Regions from separate parts of the Homo sapiens genome. Here region 2 is linked to region 1. The links are contacts of gene promoters, found by promoter capture Hi-C in blood cells and fetal thymus (Javierre and others, 2016). All regions are on one chromosome and are shown on one strand. The core of a region is centred on a gene start or on the middle of the fragment in contact, and the rest is flanking DNA. Distances in the headings are between cores, read along the strand shown. Region 1 holds the start of WWP2 (WW domain containing E3 ubiquitin protein ligase 2). Region 2 holds the start of SLC7A6 (solute carrier family 7 member 6).

Region 1 (5,745 bases), core at 2,944-5,443:
CGATCTCAACTCACTGCAAGCTCCCCCTCCCGGGTTCACGCCATTCCCCTGCCTCGGCCACCCAAGTAGCTGGGACTACAGGCGCCCGCCACCATGCCCGACTTTTTTTGTATTTTTAGTAGAGACAGGATTTCACCGTATTAGCCAGGATGGTCTCGATCTCCTGACCTCGTGGTCCACCCGCCTCGGCCTCCCAAAGTGCTGGGATTACAGGCGTGAGCCACCGCGCCCGGCCAAGATAGGTACTGTTTTACAGACAAGGGATAGCTAACTAAAGCCACTAGGTGTAGCTGACATGGTCAGTAAGTGGTGAAAATAACGTAACACCCAGACAAACTGATTCAGAGCCACTTTTTTCTCTCTTCTCTTCTTTTTTCTTTCCTTTCCTTTTCTCTCTCTCTCTTTCTTTCTTTCTTTCTTTTTTTTTTTTTTGAGACACGGTCTCTCTCTGTTGCCCAGGCTGGTGTGCAGTGGCATGATCATAGTTCACTGCAACCTTGAACTCCCAGGCTCAAGTGAGCCTCCTACCTCAGCCTCTCGAGTAGCTGGCACCACAGGCCCACACCACCATGCCCAGCTAGTTTTTTCATTTTTACTTTTGTAGAGATGAGAGTCTCATCATGTTGCCCAGGCTGGTCTGAAACTCCCAGGTTCAAGCAGTCCTTTAGCCTTGGCCTCCCAAAGTGCTGGGATTACAGGTGTGAGACACGGTGCTGTCCCTGAGCCACCTAATTATCCATTCTGTTATACTGACTGCTGCTTATGTGCCTTCACTTCATTTTGAGCAACGTGGGGCCAGAGTCTGTCTAATTTGTCTTAATAGTCTCACCCCACCTCCCTAAGCAACACACATAATTTGGTAGCAAATAATTCCTTGCTGAATTGAACAGAAGGTGTATTTAGTGACTTCTACGTTTCCTTGCAAATCTGAAATTTTATGATTATAAGATCCGGTGAATTTTGCTGAATGTCGACTTGGGTCTTCATGCAAACTTTCTTCATGAAGTCTTCACGCCAGCTGGATTCCTCAATTGTCATTTATCTGTCCTACCCCAAAAATCCTTCAGTGCTACTGAATATTGCCTTTCAGCAATTACCCAAATTCAGTCTTTCTCTTTTTTTGGGGTGGCGGGAAGGGGACTGAGTTTTGCTCTCGTCGCCCAGGCTGGAGCACAGTGGTGCGATCTCAGCTCACTGCCACCTCTGCCTCCCAGGTTCAACAATTCTCCTGCCTCAGCCTCCTGTGTAGCTGAGATTATGGGTGCCCGCCACCACGCCTGGCTAATTTTTGTATTTTTAGTACAGATGGGGTTTCACCATATTGGCCAGATGGTCTCGAACTCCTGATGTACGGTGATCCACCTGCCTTGGCCTCCCAAAGTGCTAGAATTACAGGCGTGAGCCATTGCACCTGGCTCAACCTTTCTCACCACTCAGTCTCTTCATTATCTAGAACGTGCCTGTGCTACCTGCCGTAACAGAGTATGGCTGGAGGCTATTTCTCATTTTCTAGTTTATCATATCAATTTTTTTTTTTTGAGACAGAGTCTCACCCTGTCATCCAGGCTGGAGTCCAGTGTGCAATCTTGGCTCACTGCAACCTCCGCCTCCCAGGTTCAAGCGATTCTCAAGCCTCAGGCTCCTGATTAGCTGGGACTACGGGTGTGTGCCACCATGCCCAGCTAATATTTGTATTTTTTGTAGAGATGGGTTTTCACCATGTTGCCCAGTCTGATCTCGAGCCCCTGACAGTCTGATCTGCCCGCCTTGGCCTCCCAAAGTACTGGGATTACAGGTGCCAGCCACCGCACCCTGTCAGATTTTATTCTTTTAATGTGCAGTGTGTGCTCTTTGCTTGTCCCTTCTCCCCTTTGGTGAACACTTACTCAGATGCCACTAAATCTTTTCTGCAGGGTTGTTAAAAAAAAGCAACAAAAGATAAAAAATGAAATATGAAAGAAGAAAACAAACCGAAACCAACAAATGCTAGTAAGTCAAGGAAATAGTCTCTAATTTATCTAGAACAGAATTAGTAAAACTGCCATCAATGGAACTGGAGAAGTTTTAGTTATAGTAGTTTTATAAATGAGACTAATATAGGGTTTAATGTACAAAGACAGGACTGTATCTCCTTGAAAGTTAATCTCTTGGATTTGGAGTGGTACTACAAAAAGTAGAGACTAAGTGTTCAACCTATTTATTTATTTAGATACAGAGTCTCACTCTGTCGCCCAGGCTGGAGTGCAGAGGCGTTATCATGGCTCACTGCCACCTCCGCCTCCCGGGTTCAAGCAATTCTCCTGCCTCAGGTTCTGGAGTACCTGGGATTACCCGCACCCGGACCATGCCCGGCGAATCTTTTTTTTTTTTTTTTTTGTAGTTTTAGTAGAGATGGGGTTTCACCAGGTTGGCCAAGTGGGTTTCGAACTCCCGACCTCAGGTAATCCACCTGCCTCTGCCTCCCAAAGTGCTGGGATTACAGGCGTGAGCCTCCACGCCCCACCAGCCAATTTAATTTGTATGCATGATAGAATCCATCCCAATTCGAAGACCCAAAAATAACAGATTAGTACAAGTCTTTGAGGCTAATTACGTCATTAGTATTAATTTTAATCAATGGTGATTAAACTGAGCCTTCATTCAACTTGTCCAGAACATCAGTCAAGAATGTCTATTTAAAATGTTCTTGGAGGCCGGGCGCATTGGCTCACGCCTATAATCTGAGCACTTTGGGAGGCCAAGGCAGGTGGATCATCTGAGGTTAGGAGTTTGAGACCAGCCTGGCCAACATGGTGAAACCCCATCTCTATTAAAAATACAAAAATTAGCCAGGCATGGTGGTGGGTGCCTGTAGTCCCAGCTACTCAGGAGGCTGAGGAAGGAGAATTGCTTGAACCTGGGAGGCAGAGGTTGCAGTGAGCCAAGATTGAGCCACTGCACTCCTGCCTGGGCTACAAGAGTGAAACTCTGTCTCAAGCAAGCAAATAAATAAATAAATAAATAAATAAATAAAGTTATTGGGCAGGCACAGTGGCATTCGCCTGTAGTCTCAGCTACTTGGGAGGCTGAAGCAAGAGGACTGCTTGAAGCTGGGAGTTCGAGCCCAGCCAAAGCAACCTATCCAGACCCATCTCTTAAAAAAAATATTTCTCTGCCAGGTGCGGTGGTTCATGCCTGTAATCCCAGCACTTTGGGAGGCCAAGGTGGGCGGATCATTTGAAGTCAGGTGTTCGAGACCAGACTGGTCAACATGGAGGAACCCTGTCTCTACTAAAAATGCAAAAATTAGCCAGGCGTGGTGGTGCACGCCTGTAATCCCAGCTACTCGGGAGGCTGAGGCAGGAGAATTGCATGAACCGGCGAGACGGAGGTTGCAGTCAGCTGAGACTGCACCACTGCACTCCAGCCTGGGCGACAGAGCGAGGCTCCATCTCAAAAAAAAAAAAAAAAATATCATCTATCTATCCACCTACCTACCTACCTACCTACCTGGATTATAATTCATTAAGTTCTCTGTGCCCTGTAGTTGTAGATTAAGGGAATGCGATTGGATTAGTGTGGAGGGGCTTTTTATGGAGCCAAGCAGGAGTTTTTAAGCTTTTGTACTTTTGCTTCATGTCACAAGGACAGATGCCCCACAAAGGCTGAGATGTTTGTGGTCCTGGATCTTAGAACAGTGCCTGGCACATAATAGGCATAAGGTTGCCAGGAAATAGAAATACAGATACTCAATTCAATTTGATCTTCAGATAATCAAAAAATACTTTTTTTAGTATAAATATGTCCCATTCTGTATTTGGGACATACATATTACACTGTTGTTTATCTGAAATTCAAATTTAAGTGGGTGTCCTGTACTTTATCTGGCAACCCTACTAAAGGAGCTCAATTAAGTATTTGCTGACTTAACAGTCTGAAGGTCTCGTTTCACCTGTAAAATGGGGCTAGTACCTGTCCCTGCCTCTATAAGGTTGATGGGCAGAGTAGGTGGCATTCAGTGAGCCCTCAATTTATTTGATTGCCTGGGACCATCCGGTGAGCAGAAACCCTTCCACTTTCAACTACAGAGACGATAAAAAGGCCTCCTCGAGGCCAGAGGTGCCCAGGCCAGGCCTAGGTGGCCCGCACCTGCGAGCCTGGCCAGCCTCTTCCGGGTCAGGTGACCGCGCGCGGTCACGTGACCCGGCCCGAGTGCGGGCGGTGGAAGGCGGAAGTAGGAGAGGAGTTCGGCGCCGCTTCTGTGGCCACGGCAGGTAGCGAGCGCTGGCGCGGGGGGCGCGGTGGGCTGGCTGCCTGCACGGGGCGGGCCGGGGGCGGCGGGCGGCGCGGGGTGGGCCGGGGGCGGCGCGGCCCGGGCGTCGGGGGGCGGCGGCTTCCTGTGGGAGGGGCCTGGCGCGGCGGTTCCGGCCTCCGAGGAGGGGTGTCCCGGCTCCCGCCCGAGTGGGGTGGGCGCGCCGCGGCCCGCGCGGGGGTTGCTCCGAAATGGGTGCCCCGGCCGCCAAGGGTGCAGCTGGAGCGAGTCCTCCCGGAAGGGGAGAGGAGCTTAGGTTCCCAGGCATGGAGAGGAGCGATCTTTGTGGAGGGATCGGGACCAGGGGAAGGGGCGACTTGGAACTGAGCTGGAAGGGGGTGCCTGAAAATGGGTTTATGGCGTGGAGCCAGAGGGAAAAAGATGCTGCCTGGACCCCCTCTGAGAGTCTCTCCCTTCCTTCCTGTTTGGAAATGATTGTTACCCGAGACTTTGATGACGGTCCCATTCAGTTTTTAAACTTCAGGAGGGATCACAGAATCTTGATCGTCTTGCTTCCCTCGCGCCCACTTAGTCCTGCGTGGGTAGGGTTTCCACTTCTTGGGAGCCTAGCCCTTCAGCTCATTTTTCTTTGAGATTTTCCCTGAACGGGCCATCATCGAGGCTTTAAAAAACAAAAAAAGAAAATAAATTAAAAAAATAAGTGTGGGCACTTTGCCTGTAAAATGGCTTTTAGCTTACACTGTTGACCTAGCCCAGCGTTACCTCAGCAACATAGTGACTGCTGAAATCTTGGACAGAGAAGTGTCTACCTAGACTGCTTTATGACTTTTCTCTTTCTTCCGTTTAAATTATTCAGTTTCCCTTAGCTTATCTTGTGACTGCTTATCTTGACGAACTGTAACTAGGTAGGGTGCCTGAGAGGTCTGTGTTATGTTCCTTAGAACTGTGACCTGGATCATGATTTTGAGATTGAATACTTGTGTTAAAGCCTGTTCATCTTCCTGTTTCTCATGTTTACTAAAATTTGCAGAAGCAAAAGGAGTTTCATGAGTGCAGTGTAACTGGAACGAATGTTCAAACTGGACATTCACAGCAGCCAGCATCGTTTTGGGTTACAAGTAGGAAAAAGTACTTTCCTAATGTATTATGAGTTCAAGTTTTTGGAGTTATTTGACAAACATTTAAAAATTAGTTTTTGCAGCAGCGCCTATGAGTGAGGTTGGGAAGATGTATTCTCATTTCACAGGGAACAAACAGACTTACGAGAGACGACTTGATTTTTTAAAACAATTTATTGCTCTTTCTTGTTTGCTGGCCTCTTCCTGCTAGATTGCAAATCCTTCAAGGGCAGGTTTCATATTTTATTTGGCTGCTAGCCTAGTGCCTGGCATGTTGTGAGCACTTGATAAATATTTGGTGAATAAATGCATTTCTAAAAGTCACACCGGCGTAAGTGGTGACAAAGGATTTGAACCCAAGTCTTCTACTCTTTT
Region 2 (5,564 bases), core at 2,935-5,434, 1.5 Mb before region 1:
CAGATGTGCCCCCAGTCCCGCAGGCTGTGTTCCAGGGGCCCTGATTTCCTCGGATGTGCTATTGGCCCCAGGACTGAAGCTGCCTCCCTTCACCCTGGGACTGTGGTTCCAAGGATGAGAGCAGGGGTTGGAGCCATGGCCTTCTGGGAACCTATGGAGAAAGGGAATCCAAGGAAGCAGCCAAGGCTGCTCGCAGCTTCCCTGAGCTGCACCTCTTGCTAACCCCACCATCACACTGCCACCCTGCCCTAGGGTCTCACTAGTACCAAGTGGGTCAGCACAGGGCTGAGGATGGGGCTCCTATCCACCCTGGCCAGCACCCAGCTTAGTGCTGGGACTAGCCCAGAAACTTGAATGGGACCCTGAGAGAGCCAGGGGTCCCCTGAGGCCCCCCTAGGGGCTTTCTGTCTGCCCCAGGGTGCTCCATGGATCTCCCTGTGGCAGCAGGCATGGAGAGTCAGGGCTGCCTTCATGGCAGTAGGCTCTAAGTGGGTGACTGGCCACAGGCCGAGAAAAGGGTACAGCCTCTAGGTGGGGTTCCCAAAGACGCCTTCACGCTGGACTGAGCTGCTCTCCCACAGGGTTTCTGTGCAGCTGGATTTTCTCTGTTGCATACATGCCTGGCATCTGTCTCCCCTTGTTCCTGAGTGGCCCCACATGGGGCTCTGAGCAGGCTGTATCTGGATTCTGGCAATAAAAGTACTCTGGATGCTGTAAGGTGCCCTGGCCTACATTCTGCTCTGAGCATGAGGGGAGGGAGGTGGTGGAGGTACAAGGTGGCTACAGAGGCAGGAAATTAGGGGCTGGGCCTTTACAGGAGCCTTGACAGGTTGTCTCAGCATCAAAGCATGGTTCCTGTGCCCTTCTGTGGACCTCATCCTCCTGTCCTCTCTCCTGGAATCCAGTTCCCTTCCTGGGACTAAGAACCAGAACCTGAAACATTCCTGTGGAAATGGGGTCCTGTCCTCCCCCTGCTCCTGCCTGGTCAGCAGGCCCCACATGCCACCCAGGAGCTGGGAGCAAGGACAGTCCTGCAGGTCACCCTGGCTACACCCTCCTTCCCAGCCTCTGTCCTCCCTCAGCTTGCAAGTGTCAGCATCCTTTGAACCTAGAGTTCTTTTTAGGATGCCACCCTTCTTTGCATCTTCAGCTCATCAGCCTGCCATCTGTACCCCTGGGGAGGTACAGATGAGAGAGATCAAGGGAGGAAAAGAGACTACTAGGCTGAGACTGGTATGGACAAAGACAGAAACAGAGACAGAGCCAAGGAAACATGGATAGGGGATAGGGTCCCAGCCTGAATTTTGTAGTCCAGAGCCCAGCCGGTACCCAGTTCTGTCTTAACTCAGCCCCACAAGCTGGGGCGCCAGACTTTGATACACCAGGGGCCACAAGAGGGCGCCCTGAACCCTCTCACTGAACCACCTGTTAGCCAAACCTGGAAGGACGAGGTGACCCAGAGTGGGGGTAAAAATGCCTGTGGTAAAAATACTGGGGTCCAGCTGCAGCTCTGGCCTCAGTAAAAGGATGACAACATGAAAGGGAGCTTCACCCCAGGCCCTGCCCAACCTGACTCCCTGCTTGGCCCTGACACCCCCCTACTCATGGCACCCCACTCATCCCTGACCCATTTTAGCTTCACCATCACCCTCAGTTTCATAGCTGCAGAGAGAAAGGGCATGGAATCAGAGGAGGCTTAAGGATCAGCATACTAGGGTTCAAATCTCAGCTCTACTAGCTCCAGCCAAGTTGTCTGGGGAGCCTCCTGACCCTCAGTTTCCTCATCCAAAGAATGGGGACATCTGGGTGCATTGGCTCACGCTTATAGTTCCACCTACTCAGGAGGCTAAGGTGGGAGGATCGCTTGAGCCCAGGAGTTTGAGACCAGCCTGGGCAAGACTTTATCTCTAAAGGTGAAATAGGCCGGGCGCCATGGTTCACGCCTGTGAGCCCAGCACTTTGGGAGGCCAAGGAGGGTGGATCACATGAGGTCAGGAGTTCAAGACCAGCCTGGCCAACATGGTGAAACCCCATATCTACTAAAAATACAAAATTAGTCAGGTGTGGTGGCACATGCCTTGTGGTCCTAGCTACTCTGGAGGCCGAGACAGGAGAATCACTGGAACCTGGGAGGCGGAGGCTGCAGTGAGCCAAGATGGCACCACTGCACTCCAGCCTGAGCAAGACAGAGCGAGATACATCTCAAAAAAAAAAAAAAAGATGAAATAAATCTGTAGTCCCAAGTAGGAAGCTGAGGCAGGAAGATCGCTTGAAACCAGGAGTTCGAGGCTGCAGTGAGCTATGATCACACCTGTGAATAGCCATTGCACTCCAGCCTGGGCAACAGCAAGATCTCTAAAAGCAAAAGAAAAGAATGGTTACAAATAAATGTATCCTGCAGGGTGGTCCTGAGGAACACTGATGGTGTTGGAGAACATCTGATTCAGGGTGTGGTGTACATTGGGCTTTCAGCTGATGGGCTACGTAACTGGGTATGAGACTGCAAAGCCAGACGGAGCTGGCATATGGTGTTTTTTTTTTTTTTTTTTTGAGATAGACTTTCGCTCTTATTGCCCAGGCTGGAGTGCAATGGCGCGATCTCGGCTTACTGCAACCTCTGCCTCCTGGGTTAAAGCGATTCTCCTGCCTCAGCCTCCTGAGTAGCTGCGATTACAGGCATGTGCCACCACACTCGGCTAATTTTGTATTTTTAGTAGAGACGGGGTTTCTCCATGTTGGTCAGGCTGGTCTCGAACTCCTGACCTCAAGGTGATCTGCCTGCCTCAGCCTCCCAAAGTTGTAGGATTACAGGCGTGAGCCACCAGGCCCGGCTGAGCCGGCATACCTTATATGAAGCTGTGGCAGGGACACGTGGGCTGGGTGCTGACACAAGTGTCCAGAGCTGTCCTTCTGCTCAGCCAGGGAGGCCGGAGGAACTGATCTGGGAGGCAAAGGGTGCAACTCGATTGATCCAAATATATACGTCCACTCACTGACACTTAGGGGAGGGGTTCCAAGCAGAGGGCAGGAGGGCAGCACCAGCGAGGATTCCTCAAGTATTGTCATCCCAGGCCTGCAGAGAGGAGAATGGAAGGGTTTTAGGCAGGGGAGATACAAAGTCATCGCAATCTGTATTCTAGGAGCATCCCCTACTCTGTGGAGATGGGGTAAGGGGAGCAGGATAGGGATTGAGAAGCCGTTGTGGCTGGGGAGAAGAAAACGAGGTATAGGCCGTGGGAGGAGTGGGGAGGAAGGGTCTGAGGTGCTACCCATCTCTGGCTGGGTCCCTGTCACTGGGTGGCAGGGAGCAGGGTCTTGGGTATGGTCTGGAACCAGAGGACGTGTACTTGTGGTCATAAGGCTGGGGGAAAAGATTCCAGGGCCCTGGAGAAAGTCAGTGCTTGAGGTGTGGACAGGAAATTTCGGAGGAGGGCTCAGGCGCCCATGAGGTCAGGAGGCTCTAGACAGAGAGCCCCAGAGCCACCAGAGGAAAAGGAACTCGAGAGAAAGATGGAGGAGCAAACAGAGGGAGGGGAAGGGGGCAGGAGGTGCAGCTCCCCCAAGAGGGGGGGCAGGAGGTGCAGCTCCCCCAAGAGGGGTGGCAGCCCTCTTGGGAAGATGAGGACAGAGCCCCAGGGAGGCCTGGGGTTGGCAAAGGGAGCCTGCAGTTTCTTTGTGGGTGCGGGGGCCTCAAGGGCTACGAGTCTGAGCTGTGCGTGTGTTTGGACAAGTCCCCAGAGTGTGTGTCTTCCTGGGGTTCCTAGACTGCGAGTGGCAGTGGCCCGGCGGCGGAGGCCGTTTGGATCCCTGTGTGAGCTGTAGGGGGCGCCCTGGGCGTCGGGCCCAGGTCAAGTGCGAGATAGGAACGGGGTGCGGGGGCCGATGAGAGCTCCCCGCGGGAATGTCCGCTGTGGACGCCCTCGGAGGCCCCATCTAACTCCAGGGCGGCGAGCGTGGCCGGGCCCAGTTCACGGGCTGCTCGAGCCCTGACGAGGCAGCTGGGGGCTGTCTGGCGTCCACGCTCACGTTCTGGGCCGGCGGACCCCGTACCGGCCAGGCCGTGGCGGCCACGGGGGCCCGGAAGCGCCGCCGCCAGCTGGCCCCGCACGGAACTGTGTCCCGACGCGGCGCGCGCTGTCGCGATCCGGCGGCGGGTGACGTGGCGGGGCGGGGCCTGAGCTGCCGCGGCGGCGGCGGCGCGACCGAGCATCCTGGCGGCGCCGGGCCACTGGGAGGTAACGGGCTGGGCCATGGGCGGGCGCGCCGGGAGCGGGGCCGGGGCTGGGCCGCGTTCTGTGGGAGCCGAACCCTGTGGGTCTTCGCTGCCGCCGTCGGGAGCGGGATGCGGCCCAGAAACAGCGCGGGGCTGGCCGATCGGGGCCGCGCGAGAGGCGCTGCGGGTGAGGGGGGGCGCCACGAGGAGAGAGGGACCTCGAGCGTGAGGGCCGAGTGTGGGAGAAACGCTGTATGGGTGCGAGCCCCGGAGGCTGATGGTGACCGCGAGGGAGCCAGTCTTGGGGTGTGCTGGCGACGCGGCGAGTGTGAGGGAGACCGGGGGTGTGTGTGGAGAGGGAAACCCCAGGTGCGAGGGTGACCGGGACGCTGAGTGCGCGGGCCGCGCCGCGAGCGTGAGACTGTGCGACGGTGACCCTGAGTGGGGCTGTGACTGCGCCTCCGACTGCAGGACGGAGAACCTGTGCTGTGTGGCGGCCGCGGTGGGGCAAAGAAAGACGCGGGCTCAGGACCTCAGGAGCCAGGCTTCCTGGGGCTGTCGCAAGAATGACGATTATCATTTTAAAATCAGTCCTTTTACTTTAGAGAATGCCGCAAGGTTTTGTGGCGTGCTGGAGCCTGGAGCGTTGGGCTGCTGGCGCTGGGGAACCCGCGTGCCCCTGGTGATTATGGCTCTTTTGAGCGTCCCTATAGCCTGTCATCTTGTGTGACTATCTCTCCTGAATGTGGGGAGATAGACGTGAAACATTCTGAAAATTCTTTGCTGGGCTCTAAGCAAACATGTTGTGTAATGGTCAGTATAAATAGGAATCAGGGTGTCGGCGAACACGTTTTTGAGTACCTCTTGTATGCCCTGGGCTTGGTGACACAGTTAAAAAGAATTCAGTCTCTGCCCTTGATAGGGGAAAAAGCCAGGGCAGCTCATCTCGCAGGGCGGCTGTTCAGTGCCCAGCCATCCGGGGCTTGTCTCTCAGAACTGCTCCCAGATTTCAGATCTGGGAGGAGCAGACTTGAAAGGCTGTGAGTACTTCCTTATATCAGTTCCACCTCTTTTTGGTGGCGGTGAGGCCTTTTGGGGACCTGCCCAGGCTGCCTGCATTACTCAGGTCCCATGTGTGCTGCGCAGACGGCTTTTGCTTCCCAACTTTGATCTCAGATCGTTATTCAAGTCGTTACACTGGAGTTTATTTTCCTGGCAAGTGTGTGGAAAACCACCAGCCTGATTTTCTCCTCTCTTCCTCTCCTTGTCCTCCTTCCCTATTTGGCCGTGGATGTATTTTTATTGCATATACCGGTTTTATGATCCCCATCTCCCTGGAACTTCTTAGTAG

What was found. Contacts are between HindIII fragments. The CHiCAGO score rates a contact against its expected background, and 5 or more counts as called.
Region 2: the fragment with the promoter of SLC7A6 here is called in contact with the fragment with the promoter of WWP2 in region 1 in 1 of 17 cell types (neutrophils); the score reaches 6.2 in neutrophils.

What each region holds. Positions count from the first base shown.
Region 1 is chr16:69,758,139-69,763,883 of GRCh38, forward strand. WWP2 (WW domain containing E3 ubiquitin protein ligase 2) reads left to right here and starts at 4,194. Exons shown (of 24, transcript NM_001270454.2): 1 at 4,194-4,253. RefSeq lists an enhancer at 3,999-4,577 and silencers at 4,281-4,420, 4,441-4,600, 4,621-4,670. The HindIII fragment of the contact is 2,162 bases long and covers 3,596-5,745 here.
Region 2 is chr16:68,260,342-68,265,905 of GRCh38, forward strand. It overlaps SLC7A6 (solute carrier family 7 member 6), which reads left to right and starts at 4,185. Exons shown (of 11, transcript NM_003983.6): 1 at 4,185-4,235. It overlaps LOC124903704 (a long non-coding RNA gene), which reads right to left and starts at 4,116. Exons shown (of 3, transcript XR_007065096.1): 1 at 4,027-4,116; 2 at 2,846-3,073; 3 at 2,320-2,355. It overlaps PLA2G15 (phospholipase A2 group XV), which reads left to right. Exons shown (of 6, transcript NM_012320.4): 6 at 1-717. RefSeq lists a silencer at 4,071-4,350 and an enhancer at 4,723-5,564. The HindIII fragment of the contact is 19,556 bases long and covers 1-5,564 here.